5 separate regions of the Homo sapiens genome follow, and regions 1, 3, 4 and 5 are each linked to region 2. Evidence: promoter capture Hi-C in human tissues and cell types (Jung and others, 2019). All regions are on one chromosome and are shown on one strand. The core of a region is centred on a gene start or on the middle of the fragment in contact, and the rest is flanking DNA. Distances in the headings are between cores, read along the strand shown.

Region 1 (2,700 bases), core at 139-2,638, 640 kb before region 2:
CCCACCTCAGCCTCCCAAAGTGCTGGGATTACAGGAGTGAGCCACCACGCCCGGCTGGGTGCTTTTAAAGGCAATGTGAAGTGCTGCAATGGTTGACAGCTTGCTTTGTGTTGGTTGGCATCTTTTAATATCTTCAAATATTGCACCAAAATGACCACAAAAGTGTAGGAGCACTCAATAAAGGTAGCGCTATGACTTCTCGAGGTTCCTATTGGTTCTCACACATCAAAAATCTCTGGGAGGGCTTCATCCTTCTTTGATTTCATTACCATGTCCCCTGACACATGGGGGTGTTCTGGCCCCTGCCCATGACTGTCTTGTGTTTTTTCACTTTAAAGCTTGCACCTAACTTGCATTGTCTGGTGTTTTCACATTTTCGTTGTGTTAATCTAGAGGGCATGCTTCCCCATCTTTCATCCTATTTATGTTGGTTTGATTGTGTGGTAGGAAGAATAAAGTGTGCCCTCACCTCCCTCCCCACTGGCCGCCAAAGATGTCTACATCCTAATCCTCAGAATCTGTGAGTGTTATAATGCACGGCAAAAGGAGAATTAAAGTTGCAGATGGAATTAAAGTTGCTCATCAGCTGACTTTAACAAGAATTATCCTGGTTTATCTTATGTTAACACAAAGGACCTTAGAAGATGGAGGCAGAAGCGTAGGTCAGAGGTACTCAATGTCAGAAGGACCCAACCGGCCTCGCTGGCTTTGAAGATACAGGAAGGTGCAGTTTGAGGGTGTTCTTGTAGACACGGAGACCGATTCTTCCCTAGAGCCTCCGGAAGGAACACAGTCCTGCTGATGCCTCGATTTTAGCCCAGTGAGACCCATTTCTGACTTCCAATTTCCAGAATTGAAAGATAATAAGTTGTATTGTTTAAGCCACTAAGTTTGGGCCAGCCACGGTGGCTCATGCCTGTACTCCCAGCACTTTGGGAGACCTGGGTGGGCGGATCTCTTGAGGTCAGGAGTTTGAGACCACCCTAGCCAACATGGTGAAACCCTGTCTCTACTAAAAAAAAATACAAAAAATAAGCTGGGCGTAGGGCACGCGCCTATAATCCCAAGCTGAGGCAGGCGGATCGCTTGAACCTGGCAGGCAGGGGTTGCAGTGAGCCAAGACGGTGTCACTGCAGTCCAGCCTGGGCGACAGAGTGAGACTCCGTCTCAAACAAACAAACAAACAAACAAACAAACAAACAAACCACCGGATTTGTGGTGATTTGTGACAGCAGTCATAGGAAACATATAATTTGCATCTCCTATAATGTTAGCTTGGTCAATATCACAGCATCAGGTAGAAGCCATGGGCCAGGAAATGAGCTCCTACTGGCCACAGAGGTCCTGGCTGGCACCTTCCTGCCAGGACTCTCCTTGCAGGGGGGTGAGGGGGAAAAGACCACGATGCTGAGGAGCTCTGCTGGGAAAAGCATGAGCTATGTCCCCAAGGACCTTCCTCATCTTTGCACACCTTCCAGCACATTCTACGCACTTGTCATGGGCTCACTTCCTGTTTGGGTCATTTACTTACCAGAAATGTCTCTCCTTTTCTGAGATTAAGTCTGCTTGACCATGTAGAGAGAAGCTGTTCAGTAAACACATACCAAGGTTTCATTTTGAAAAGCTTCATGTGGGAGCTGAGGTTGGAAACCTAAAAGACCCCCAAGTTTAGCAGTGGTTTAGTGAATAAGTAACTGTGAAATGTCCCAGGAATATGCTTGGCTTTCAAAAACTAGTATTTAAAATATCTAGTCTTCTCTCTAAAAGATGGAAGAGAAATTAGTTTTGAAAATCCTTTTGGCTAAAAGCCTACTGTTCTGACATATTCTTCCTCCTGGGACTCACTTTCCTAGAACTGCCTGTCTCTGGTACCTTGTATCTGGAACTCTCCTGAGGTTTATTTGCATTGTTGAATTCCTGCCTTAGGGTTATTGAAGAGTAATGAATTGAATGTTTGAGTTGTTTGTGGTAAGTTATTAATTCCTCCCCCCTTTTTTTTTTGGAGACAGTCTCTCTCTCTCATCCAGGCTGGAGTGCAGTGGCGTGATCTCGTCTCACTGCAACCTCCACCTACCAGGTTCAAGTGATTCTCCTGCCTCAGCCTGCTGAGTAGCTGGGATTACAGGCACATGCCACCACTCCCGGCTAATTTTTTTTTTTTTTTTTAGTAGAGACGAGGTTTCATCATTTTGGCCAGGCTGGTCTCGAATTCCTGACCTCAAGTGATCTGCCTGCCTCCCAAAGTGCTGGGATTACAGGCGTGAGCCACTGTCCCTGGCCAGTAAGTTATTAATTCCATCAGTGAGAGAGACAGCTCTGTGGTTAACGGCACTCATAGGACCATACAGAAGTGTGAAAAGAGGGATCTCAGCTTATCGAATAGAATTTCAGCCACTGCTGAATTACCTTTGGATGGTCCACAAAGAAGTTGCAGAGATACTCTCCTAGGAGAAACAGCCCCATGAGCCACTTCAGGATGGCTTGGCTTTCAGTGAGTTGCTGATAAATATCAGATTTCTGTAAAAATCGAATTTGAAATAGTTTACATATAAAATAGAAGCCTAAATTATCGATCCTGGAGTGTACAGCGAAAGGAGAGAAAATTACACCAGCAATTACATTACAATGTAATAAATGGTAAATCCAGGTGGCCTCTCCTCTCTCTCTCTTTCAATTTCCCTCTCTCTCTTCTCTCTCTTT
Region 2 (2,700 bases), core at 119-2,618:
GAAGGGGAAATAACTGAATTTGGCTCTTATTTTTAATTTTTTTCCATTAAAAAAATACATTATAGAAAAAATATATAGAGACGGGATCATGCTGTGTTGACCAGGCTGGTCTCCAACTCCTGGCCTCAAGCGATCCTCCCATCTCGGCCCCCCAAAGTGCTGGGATTACCGGTTTGAGCCACGCGCCTGGCCTCAATTTGTCTTTTAAAGGATGATTTTGACTACAAGAGAACTACTTGGATCAGGGTTGGGGGTGGGAGATGAGGAGGTGTGATTTCAGAGGCCAAGTACAGAATGAGTGAACAACTGGGAGAGACACATCGGCTGAGATTAGAGAGATGGTCCGGTAGACAAAAGTGTAAGCATGAGACCCGAGGTAGGACAAGCAGAACTTGCAGATCTATTACAGATGTAGGGGTGAGGAGTGCCAGGGTGACTCTTGAGTGTCTGGCTTGAGCAGCTAGGCAAATGGTGTGGATCAAAAAAGCAGCAGGTTGCAGGGAGGACGGCAGTGTTAATCGAAAGTCATGTTCTGTAAGTTTTAGGTTCGATACGACTCTGAGCGGAGATGTCAATTAGTCAACCGAATGTCAGGTGTGAAGATCGGCACAGAGGGCAGAACCAGAGACATTCATTAGAGAGCAAACAGGTAGAGGGCACTTAACCTATAGGAAGGATGCACTCATATAGAGCGAGAAAAGGGCCAGAAGGAGCCCTAATGAGTAGAGAAAGACAGGCTGAAAAGGACATCGGCGAGGTCAGAGAAATACCTTTAGGGTGTAATTACGCCTACGCGAGTGGGTAAAATGAGGGCATAATGACGCGGACTGGATTGCAATAAACAGCTTTTATTCTTTTATCAGAGACACGATCTAGCTTTTTAGCCCAGGCCGGAGTGCGGTGGCATCCTCACAGCTCGCTGCAGCTTCACTGGGCTCAGGCGATCCTCTCGAGTAGCTGGGGTACAGGCGCAGGCCACCGTGACAGGCTTTTTTTTTTTTTTTTTTTTTTTTTTTTTGAAGAGAGGGTCTCACTATGTTACCCAGGCTAGTCTCGCAGTCTGGCACTCCTGGCCTCAAGCGATCCTCCTGCCTCGGCCTCTCGGCCTCCCAAAGTGCTGGCCTGTGCCCAGTCAATGGCTGTTCCAAATTAGGGTCTACCCATCTCTATGCAGGGCTAAAGTCCGCGGGCGGCCCCGCACCGCTACCAAAAGTACAGTCCTGTGCGCCCAGACGCGACGCAAACAAGAGTCGCAAGCTTCCGGGTCCCCGCCCCACCCCGGCTCCGCCCCTCCCCCAACCCTGCCAGGCTCTCCAATCGCATGTGGAATTATCGCTCTACCCAGGCGGTGGTGTCGATCTACGTTCCAATTGGGGCCGTACCATGGCGGAGAAGACTCAAAAGAGGTGGGTTTGCTGCTTGAGAAAAGCCTTTTCTCAGCTTTCCGTAGGGGTGGAACCTGTTCCTGGTCGCCAATGGTGGCGACTCAGAAGGTGTCTCATCCTGGGCATTCGGGCCGAAGGTACCTGAAGCCCAGACCTGGCGTCCACTGAGGGAGGGGGCGACGGAGTGGGGGCGGGGAGGGTTGAGAAGGGACGCGGAGTCGCTGCCTGGAAGGTTTTTGTTCCTGTCTGGCCGTCCCTCCCCACATGCGCCTGCGCAGAGGGGGTCTCCCGGCCGGGAGGGCGGGGGGGGCTGTGAGGGGAGGGTGACGTCAGCTTTTTCCTGGGGAAGGCCGGCTCCCTTCTCCCGCATAATCGGCGGTGCTTGGCGCCGCTGTACCCCACGGCTTGGCGCTGGATTCTCTGCTGCATGTTGCGAGACCCCCACGCCAGTGCTGGCCGCACCCCAGGCCCTTCCTGTCTCTGGAGGGTGGGGTGTGTAAAGGGATTTACGGTCGCTGTCAAAAGGGGGGCCGCGCCTGGACTTGAACTGTGACACACACACACACACATTATATAGATGCAAGGAGTACTTGCGCAGATTTGTTGCATAGATAAATTGCGTAATGGTGAAGTTGGCTTCTAGTGTACTTACCACCCAAATAGTGAACATTGTATCAGATGGGTAATTTTTCAGCCCTCAAACCCCTCCTACCCTCGCTGCTTTTAGAGTCCCCAGTGTCTGTTATTTCCCTCTTTATGTTTATGTGTACTCATTTTAGCTCCCACTTAAAAGTGAGAACATGTGCATTTGATTTTATTTCTGAGTTATCGCGTAAGGTAATGGCCTCCAGTTCCATCCATGTTGTTGCAAAAGACATGTTTCCTTTCTTTTTGATGGCTCTGTAGTATTCCATCGTATAGATACACCACATTTCCTTTATCCAGTCATCCGTTGATGAACACTTAGGTTGATTCCATACTTTGCTATTGTGAATAGTACAGTGATAGTCATAGGAGTGCAGTTGTCTTTTTAATACAATGGTTTCCTTTGAGTAGATCCTGGGTCGAATGGTAGTTCCGTTTGGATTGGTAGCTCTATATGGATTGCTGGGTCCAATGGTACTTGTGTTTAGTCCTTTGAGAAATCACCATACTATTTTCAATAGATGAACTAATTTATATTCCCACCAATAGTGTATAAGCTTAGAACTGTGACATTTTTTGCCAGGCGTGGAGTGGACAAGCTCCTTTGTAAACATGTGGGGACAGGAAGTTTGGCTTCTTCTCCGGTAGTCTTCATTGCTGGGGGCTGTTG
Region 3 (2,712 bases), core at 20-2,519, 520 kb before region 2:
TAGATCTCGTGAGAACTCACTCACTATCAGGAGAACAGCAAGGGGGAAATCTGCCCCCATGATCCAATCACCTCCCACCAAGCCCCTGCTCCAACACTGAAGATCATAATTCAGCATGAGATTTGTACACAGAGCCTAACTATATCACTATCTCAGAATACACCTAATTTATGGCCACATTTTAAAGCCATCACATCCACAGGGGTATATCCCTCCTGTGGATTTTTTGCTCAATTCACTCTGCCAGAGTAACTCTCAATTTGCAGAAGAATAAACCAGGCATTGAGGATGTGACCATTGTCTTCAGCTCTTTGGAAGACTATCATATGCAAGAGAGAGTAGATGTAACCCACAAGGCTTTAAGAATGAGCTAAAGACCAGTGAGTAAATGGAACAGGCGAACTTACTAATATTTGGGAATGTCTGTCAATGAGTTGCCTTGCCTAGGAAGACAGTGAATTCTCTGATTTTTGAACTATTGATTGAACACAAATCAGGAATGTCCCAGTAGGGCCTCAGACACTATCTTGGAGATTGGATTAAATGAATTCTTTAGAAGACTGAGGGATATAAGTTGTTCTGTGTTAGAAACATCGCAGCAGAGACAGGGCATGATGAAGAATCATCCACGACTTCAATTCTACCTTTTCAAGTCACCTTCTAAGTATATAATTTCAAGGATATTGGGATGCCTCATGGTACCTCTCCTTTAATAATTATTCTCCTATATTGGTGGCTTAGAACCCCCAATGAGAGACTAATTCTTTTAATTTAAGCCTTTGATCCTTGTTAAAGTGTAATACCCCGGGAAAGGGGAGAGCCAAAGCTCTTTCCAGTGATTTATAATTTACCAAGAGCACGTTTAAGGTCATATTCTGTGAGGATGATTTGACAAGAGAGGGTAGGGCAATGCGTATGTGAGAAGGGGGAGGAAGAAATGGTCCAGAAGGAGAGAGAGAATGGCACAAAGTAGGGAAAAATACATGAAGATCTGGGGAACCGATGCTTCTGGTGCCAGCCCTAGCAGAGGCTGATTTCTTCAGCTTCATGCAATCGGTTATGAAACCACCGTTCTCAGTTCTCAGAACAAACTGGCAGAGAGCTGGTGTCCACTTCCGTGACCTTTCCTGCACTTGAGAAGTGCAACTACAGGCTCAGCTCAGAGAATACCACAGAGCCCTCTTCCCTGTTTGGAACAGCAGGTGGGGGAGTCACCCTCCCTCATTTATTTCCGTCACTACACTGTTAGAACAGGGATGACAGGGGCCTAACTCACTTCCCGAGAAGTCGTGGCATCCTCTGTATAAACAAAGGAAAAATTTCTACTGTAAATCACCCAAACAAGTGATATCCCAGAGGAAGAAAGAAAACAGTGAGGGAGGAAGATGCCATCCAAGGGGAAAACATGTCAGGTTGTGCACATTAGATCTGGTCATTCGCAAGTGACCTCTCTGGGAAGGCAAAGGATAGCAGAGATTGAAAAGGAGGCTATAAAATTGAGAGCCTAAGCAAAGCACTTGACAGAGGGAAGAACATGTAACCAGTGGACTCCTTGTTCTCCCAGCACTGCCCTCACAGCCCAAAGAATTTCTGAACAAAGAGAACAAGATTCAAGTTTAAAACCAAGACCTCTGCTTCCATTTCTGTGTTTTCCTTCCCTCCCATAGCCCAGAGTGTGCCCCAGCAAACCAGCTGTCAGGAAAGCATTTGATGTCAGTCATTTGCATCTTAATGCGATGGAAAGGTGAGGAGCTGCCTCTACCGGCATATTTCAATTTTAAGACTGATTTGTTAGAGTGAAGGACTCCTTGAAGATAATTCAAGCTTGGGAGGTGTGATCGGACACATTCTGGGGAGGGGAGTTGGCAGGGTAGGGAGGTCACCAGGTAGTCACCACTTCCATTTTCATACAAAGGTACCTGTGATGCTTGGAGTCAAGTACTGGGTTCCATCTTGGGAAGCCAGAGCGTCGGATCTTCGGTCACTCCTGGTGAGCACAAGCAAGTGAGAGCTCAGGCTCTGGTGCAGGGTGAGTGGAAGCGCCACTCCCTTTATTTCAAACCTTCTTCTGGCCTGTGGGGGAGCCAGCTCCCTGGGGCATCCCATTACAACAACAGCTGACCACAAGGAGCGCCAGTGTGCAGGCGCTTCTTCCCAGCTGCAGGCATTTTAGTTGTGTTGTAAATAGACAACCATGAGACCAAATGGAAACTTTGTATAGTCTTAGTATTCCAGATCCATGGAGATCTGAGGATAAAAAGTCCCAAGTAATAGCATATCCTATTTATTTTCACCAACTTATATAAAACTGAACCCTGACTCTGTTATGCATTGCCCACAAGCAGCTTTATAGGATCACAGATACATCAGCAGTCCCTACGGCCCTATAAGGCTATTTTCCTAGCATTACACATCCTCCAAGTCATAGATGTCAAAGTGGTGTTCTAGTGGAGATTGAATATCATTCCATTGTTAGAAGATGGGAAGTAAATTCAATATACAAGATCAAATGGAGACTTTTCAGTTTTCTCTTACTCTTTTTTTCTGTTTGTTTTTGCAGTTAGTGAACCAGCAGATCTTGTTATGAGGAGCGGTTAAACTTTCACAAGCTCAGTTACAATGTGATGCTCAACAAATTCATTTTAAAGGGACCACTTGATAGAATTAGGGAAAAGAACCATTGGCTCTACAGATTGATTTAGCATAGATCTT
Region 4 (2,700 bases), core at 174-2,673, 740 kb before region 2:
TAGTTGTATTAAATGCATTTTCTGTTTACAATAGGGTTATCAGTATGTAACCTCATTGTACACTGAGGAACATCTGTATATTATTCTGTCTTTTTTTCCTGATTTAAAATTTTATGGTTTAACTACATTAGATACAGAAGTCCCTCTTTTTCTGAGGTTTCACTTTCTGCAGTTTCAGTTGCCTGTGGTTAACTGTGATCCAAAAATATTATGTACAAGAAGATATTTTGAGAAAGAGAGAGAGGGAAAGCACATTCACACAACTTTTATTATAATATATTGTTAAAATTGTTCTATTTTATTACTAGTTATTGTTAATCTCTTACTGTGCCTAATTGTTCTATTTTATTATTAGTTATTGTTAATCTTTTACTGTGCCTAATTTATAACCTGAATTTATCATAGGTATGTTATGGATAGAAAAAAACATAGTATATATAGGGTTCCATACTATCTATAGTTTATGACATCCACTGGGGGTCTTGGAACATATCTCCCTCAGATAAGGGGGGACCACTGTAATGTCAAGTGTTTTTTTAAGGAGTTTTACCAATTTACAATCTTTCCAGCAGTGTTAAGAGTTTCTGTTGCTTCCCATTTCTGCAAATAGTTAATATTGTCAATTTCTTAATTTTTCCCAAGTTGTAAAATTTGCTACATTGTAAACTGATAGCCTATTGTCATTTTAATTTGCTTTTTACTAATTATCAAGGTAGTTTATTTATTTATTTATTTATTTTTTGAGACGGAGTCTTGCACTGTCGCCAGGGCTGGGGTGCAGTGGCACAATCTTGGCTCACTGCAACCTCCGCCTTCCAGGTTCAAGCAATTCTCCTGCCTCAGCCTCCCAAGTAGCTGGGATCACAGGCGCCCACGACCATGCCTGGCTAATTTTTTGTATTTTTAGTAGAGATGGGATTTCACTATGTTGGCCAGGCTGGTCTTGAACGCCTGACCTCATGATCCACCCACCTTGGCCTCCCAAAGTGCTGGGATTACAGGCGTGAGCCACCACGCCCAGCCATCAAGGTAGTTTAGAATTTTTTCACCCAAATGTTTATTTGCTATTAGTGCTTTGTTTTCTGCTAAGTGTTTACAGGTTCTTTATCGGATTTTATTTGGGTTTGTGTGTATTTTTCTTATTGAATGTATGAACAATGTATATATTATAGATAAAAGATCTGTTGTTTTTTATATGGGCTACCAATGTCTTCTCTAAGTTCTTGGCTTGTCTTTTTCCTTTCCTTGTGGTGTTTAATTTTTAATTTTAATTTTTATAATAAAATCGTTTATAAGTAAAAATCTAATAAAGACTAAACTAATTTTTTGAAAGGGTACATCAAAGTTGGAGGACTTACATTACCTAATTTTAAGACAATATAAAGTTGTAATAATAAGTAACTTAGTGAGGCATTAGTATTCAGACGGACATAAAGATAAATGTGACAGAAGAGAGAGTCTGGAAGTAGATCCACACATACATAGTCAACAGATTTCCAGCAGAGTTGTCAGAGGTGTTTGAACCAGAGCAACTCCATCTTGAATATGGGCTGGGTAAAATAAGGCTGAGACCTACTGGGCTGCTTTCCCAGATGGTTAAGGCATTCTAGGTCACAGGATGAGATAGGAGGTCAGCACAAGATACAGGTCATAAAGGCCCTGCTGATAAAACAGGCTGCAGTAAAGAAGCCAGCTAAAACCCATCCAAACTACGATGGTGACAAGAGTGACCTCTGGTCATCCTCACTGCTACACTCCCACCAGTGCCATGACAGTTTACAAATGCTCAATATGGTCTAAAAAGGGGAGAAATGAATAATCCATCCTATATTTAGGATATAATCAAGAAATAATCATAAAAATGGGCAACCAGCAGCCCTTGGGGCTGCTCTGCCTATGGAGTGACCATTGTTTATTCCTTTACTTTCCTAATAAACTTACCTTCATTTTACTCTATGGACTCACTCTGAATTCCTTCTTGTGTGAGATCCAAAAACTCTCTCTTGGGATCTAGATTGGGATCCCTTTCCAGTAACAGAGTTGCCAAGGCAATTCAATGAAGAAGTGATAATCTTTTGAACGAATAGGGCTGGAACAACTGGATTTTCATATGCCAAAAAAACAAAAACAAAAGCACAAAAAACAAACAGCCCTGACCCTTACCTCACACTGTATTACAAAATTTAACTTAAAATGAATCATAGGCCTAAATATAAAAGCTAAAGTTATAAAACTACTAGAAGAAAACAGAAAATTTTCGTGACAGTGAATTAGTAAAAAATGTCTTGGGTAGGACACAAAAATAGTACAAAGCATGAATGAAAAAAATGATAAATTTAACTTCATCAATATTATAAACTGTTTTTCAAAAGACACTTGTAAAAGAATTTAAAAAGCCAAGAACTGGATGAAATTATTTGCAGAATATATATATGATAAAGGACTTGTATCCAGAATACATAGAGACTTTTACAATTCAATTATAAGAAATTACACAACCCCATTAACAAATGAAGATAAGGTTTAAGAAACACTTCACCATGGAAAATAGCATGTGAAAAGATACTCAATACCATTAGACATTAGGAAAATGTAAATTGAAACCACAGTGAGATATGACTACACACCCACATTCTAGTGTAACATTCTAGGCTAACATTAGAAAGATTGATTTTATCAAGTGTTGGCAAGGATGTGAAT
Region 5 (2,700 bases), core at 121-2,620, 610 kb before region 2:
TTCTGTGTAACCAGCTTCCACAGCCACCCTCTCCGTGCCACCAATTCAGTCTTCTGGTCTACCAGCCCAGGTACTGTTGAGTGCCGGCAGCAGAGGGGCCAGGGACTGCTGTGAGGCAGCGTCTCCATCCAGAGACCCCTGCCTGGGACGTCTGCCACATCCTCAGTCAGTTGCCTCTGATTAACCCAGAGTCCGTGAGAGCAGGAAACCCCCAAATGTCACCATAAAACTGGGGACATTTTCAAGCTAACCCCCCCACCACACCCCGGGTAATATAGTTAAACCCCTTCATTTTACAGGCAAGGAAACCAGAGATCAGAAAGGTTAAATGACTTCTCAGAGGCAGTGGTAGAGCAGGTTCTACCCTCCTTTCCATTACAGGCTTAAAGTCAGCATCACTTTAGAGGAGATTTAACCAGCAGATGAGCAGGTAGCATCAACGCAGAACATGCACTTTGGCAGGGCTGGCTTCTCTGTCCTTCTCTCCTGCCTGTACTCATCCTCCCCAACATGGAAGGAGGTGGGTTTTCCATCCTCTTTACCCCTTTGTTTATCTCCATCCCGCCCCACAGCAGGGAAGGAGGCTTTTAACAGAATCACCCTTGGGAAGTTTTGCCTTGGGATTCTATTTAAATGACAGAATAGACCTGATGTATGGTGGGGTCCCTCTCAGTAGAATATAGGTATCCAGGGTGTTGTGAGTTGAATTGTGTCCCCCAAAAAGACATATTGAAGTGGTAACGCCTGGTACCTATGAATGTGGCCTTGTTTGGAAGTACAGTCTTTGCTGAAGTAATTAAGATGGAAGTTAAGAGGAGATACTGGAATAGGGTGGACCCTTAATCCAGTATAACTAGTGCCCTTAAGAAACTGCCTTTGCAAAATTATAACTGAGGAAATTATGACAGTGAAAGAAGTCAGCCCTAACCGACTCTGTCTTGCTTCTCTGACCCTTAAGCTGTCCTTGTTCTTTCCTGGGCGTAGGTCAAACTTTGGGAAGGAATTCAGTTCATTGTTTGACTCTGAAACAAAATCGATAATAGCCCTTTCCTGAAAAGACCCCTTTCTTGTCTGGGGTCCAATCTGCTTTTGCAGGACTAACAAATTAGCTATAAGATTAGAAATTAGCCACTGGCTTCAAGAGTCTGAACCTCCCCAAATTGCTCCTGGGGGTAACTGTAGGGAGTCCCCCTGAAACTATTGCTACGGAGTAAAAGATGAAATGCTCCTGGTTATTGTAAATACAAAATTACATGCAGGATTGTGTAAAGACAATGCCAGTTTGGACTGCCAGAAAGAGCCAACAGCGCGTGATGTGCTTCCCCCCGCAGAGAGCCTATGAATGGATGTGCAGTCAGGGAGGTTTCACATCACCAAGATTCCTATCCCAGAAAAGCAGATGTTCATAGCTCTGGGAATGGAATGCAACCCTTGTGGAGAGCCTATAAATGGGTGCGTTGGGGAGGGGTGGCACCTGTCCATATGGATACGATAGGGCTATAAACGCCCTCATCTTGCCATGGCTCTTCTAGGCCTCTTTAGGGTTAAGGCATACTCCCTTCTGAGAATTTCTGGTCTAACCGGTTGTCTAGCTTCACGTCCTGTTTCCATGGATTGTTCGTAACCAGCTTGTGTGGCAATTGTTACTGCTGATTAATATCTTGCTAATCATAGGTTATGGAAAGATTGTGTTTCGGTTTTAAGGCTCTGTTAAAAATTACTGATGCACACACTATATTGTAAATTCTTATCTCTGTATACTGTACTTCTACATACAAATGTACTGTACTTCTACATACAAATGTTATGTTAAAGAATTACTTCATCCCCATGTGACCATCTCACCTCATAATCAAATGACCCTAAATCCATCACTAACCTACCCCTGCCCTCACTAAATTTAATAAGTGCTGGTATATCCAGTGCATTGTTGGCACCACAGGACCAGAAGGCGGTGACCCCCCCGGACCCAGCTTTCACTATCTTGTGTGTGTCTATTATTTCTCAACCTGCCGACCTGCCTGGGAACAAAGAGAGAGCCCTATTGCATTGCGGGCTGCTGGCCAGATCCCGCAATAGGTAACATCACTATTGTAAAATCTCAGATCAGAGCTTGAGATATTTTGCAGACCTTGCACTTGATGGAGCAGCTGACACCACCCAGACCCAACCAGTTCTGCCCAACCAGCTCTGCCATTGCACCCAGGAACACAAGACATTAGGAAAACCTAACTTCGACCCCCTATGATTCCATCTCCAACTTGACCAATCAGCCTCCCCACTTCCCAAGACCCTACCTGCCAAATTATCTTTAAAAACTCAGATCCCCGAATGCTCGGGGAGACAGATTTGAGTAATAATAAAACTCTGGTCTCTTGCACAGGTGGCTCTGTGTGAATTACTCTTTCTCCATTGCAATTCCGCTGTCTTGATAAATCGGTTCTCTCTAGGCAGCAGGCAAGGGGAACCCACTGGGCAGTTACACTTACAGGAAGAGAAGAGACACAGCCACACACAGAGAACACTTGTGACAGGGCAGACATTGGAGTGATGTTGCCACAAGCCAAGGATGCTCTGTCCACCAGAAGCTGGAAGAGGGAAGGAGAGGTCTTCCCCTAGAGGTTTGGAGGGAGTGTGGCCCTGCAGACACCTTGATTCTGCACGTCCAGCCTCCAGAAGGATGGGAGAATAGATATCTGT

What was found. Contacts are between HindIII fragments. The study calls those that stand out against the background at their distance.
Region 1: a contact is called between a fragment that was not itself captured here and the fragment with the promoter of DCTN6 in region 2, in 1 of the 25 tissues and cell types used here (heart right ventricle).
Region 3: a contact is called between a fragment that was not itself captured here and the fragment with the promoter of DCTN6 in region 2, in 1 of the 25 tissues and cell types used here (lymphoblastoid cells).
Region 4: a fragment that was not itself captured here is called in contact with the fragment with the promoter of DCTN6 in region 2 in 1 of the 25 tissues and cell types used here (lymphoblastoid cells).
Region 5: a fragment that was not itself captured here is called in contact with the fragment with the promoter of DCTN6 in region 2 in 2 of the 25 tissues and cell types used here (IMR-90 fibroblasts and spleen).

The regions. Positions count from the first base shown.
Region 1 is chr8:29,519,459-29,522,158 of GRCh38, forward strand. No RefSeq gene overlaps it. Among named protein-coding and RNA genes, the nearest start is that of LINC02948, 41 kb to the right of the region's middle. The HindIII fragment of the contact is 6,406 bases long and covers 1-2,700 here.
Region 2 is chr8:30,155,001-30,157,700 of GRCh38, forward strand. DCTN6 (dynactin subunit 6) reads left to right here and starts at 1,369. Exons shown (of 7, transcript NM_006571.4): 1 at 1,369-1,406. The coding sequence starts at 1,384. It overlaps DCTN6-DT (DCTN6 divergent transcript), which reads right to left and starts at 1,660. Exons shown (of 1, transcript NR_186490.1): 1 at 829-1,660. It overlaps LOC124901927 (a long non-coding RNA gene), which reads right to left. Exons shown (of 2, transcript XR_007060880.1): 2 at 2,172-2,700. RefSeq lists enhancers at 460-669, 494-1,476, 1,420-1,569 and a silencer at 1,630-1,739. The HindIII fragment of the contact is 3,226 bases long and covers 1-2,700 here.
Region 3 is chr8:29,634,052-29,636,763 of GRCh38, forward strand. No RefSeq gene overlaps it. Among named protein-coding and RNA genes, the nearest start is that of LINC02948, 73 kb to the left of the region's middle. The HindIII fragment of the contact is 6,582 bases long and covers 1-2,712 here.
Region 4 is chr8:29,413,622-29,416,321 of GRCh38, forward strand. No RefSeq gene overlaps it. Among named protein-coding and RNA genes, the nearest start is that of DUSP4, 64 kb to the left of the region's middle. The HindIII fragment of the contact is 6,412 bases long and covers 1-2,700 here.
Region 5 is chr8:29,540,810-29,543,509 of GRCh38, forward strand. All of the region lies in intron 1 of LOC105379350 (a long non-coding RNA gene), which reads left to right. Among named protein-coding and RNA genes, the nearest start is that of LINC02948, 20 kb to the right of the region's middle. The HindIII fragment of the contact is 5,876 bases long and covers 1-2,700 here.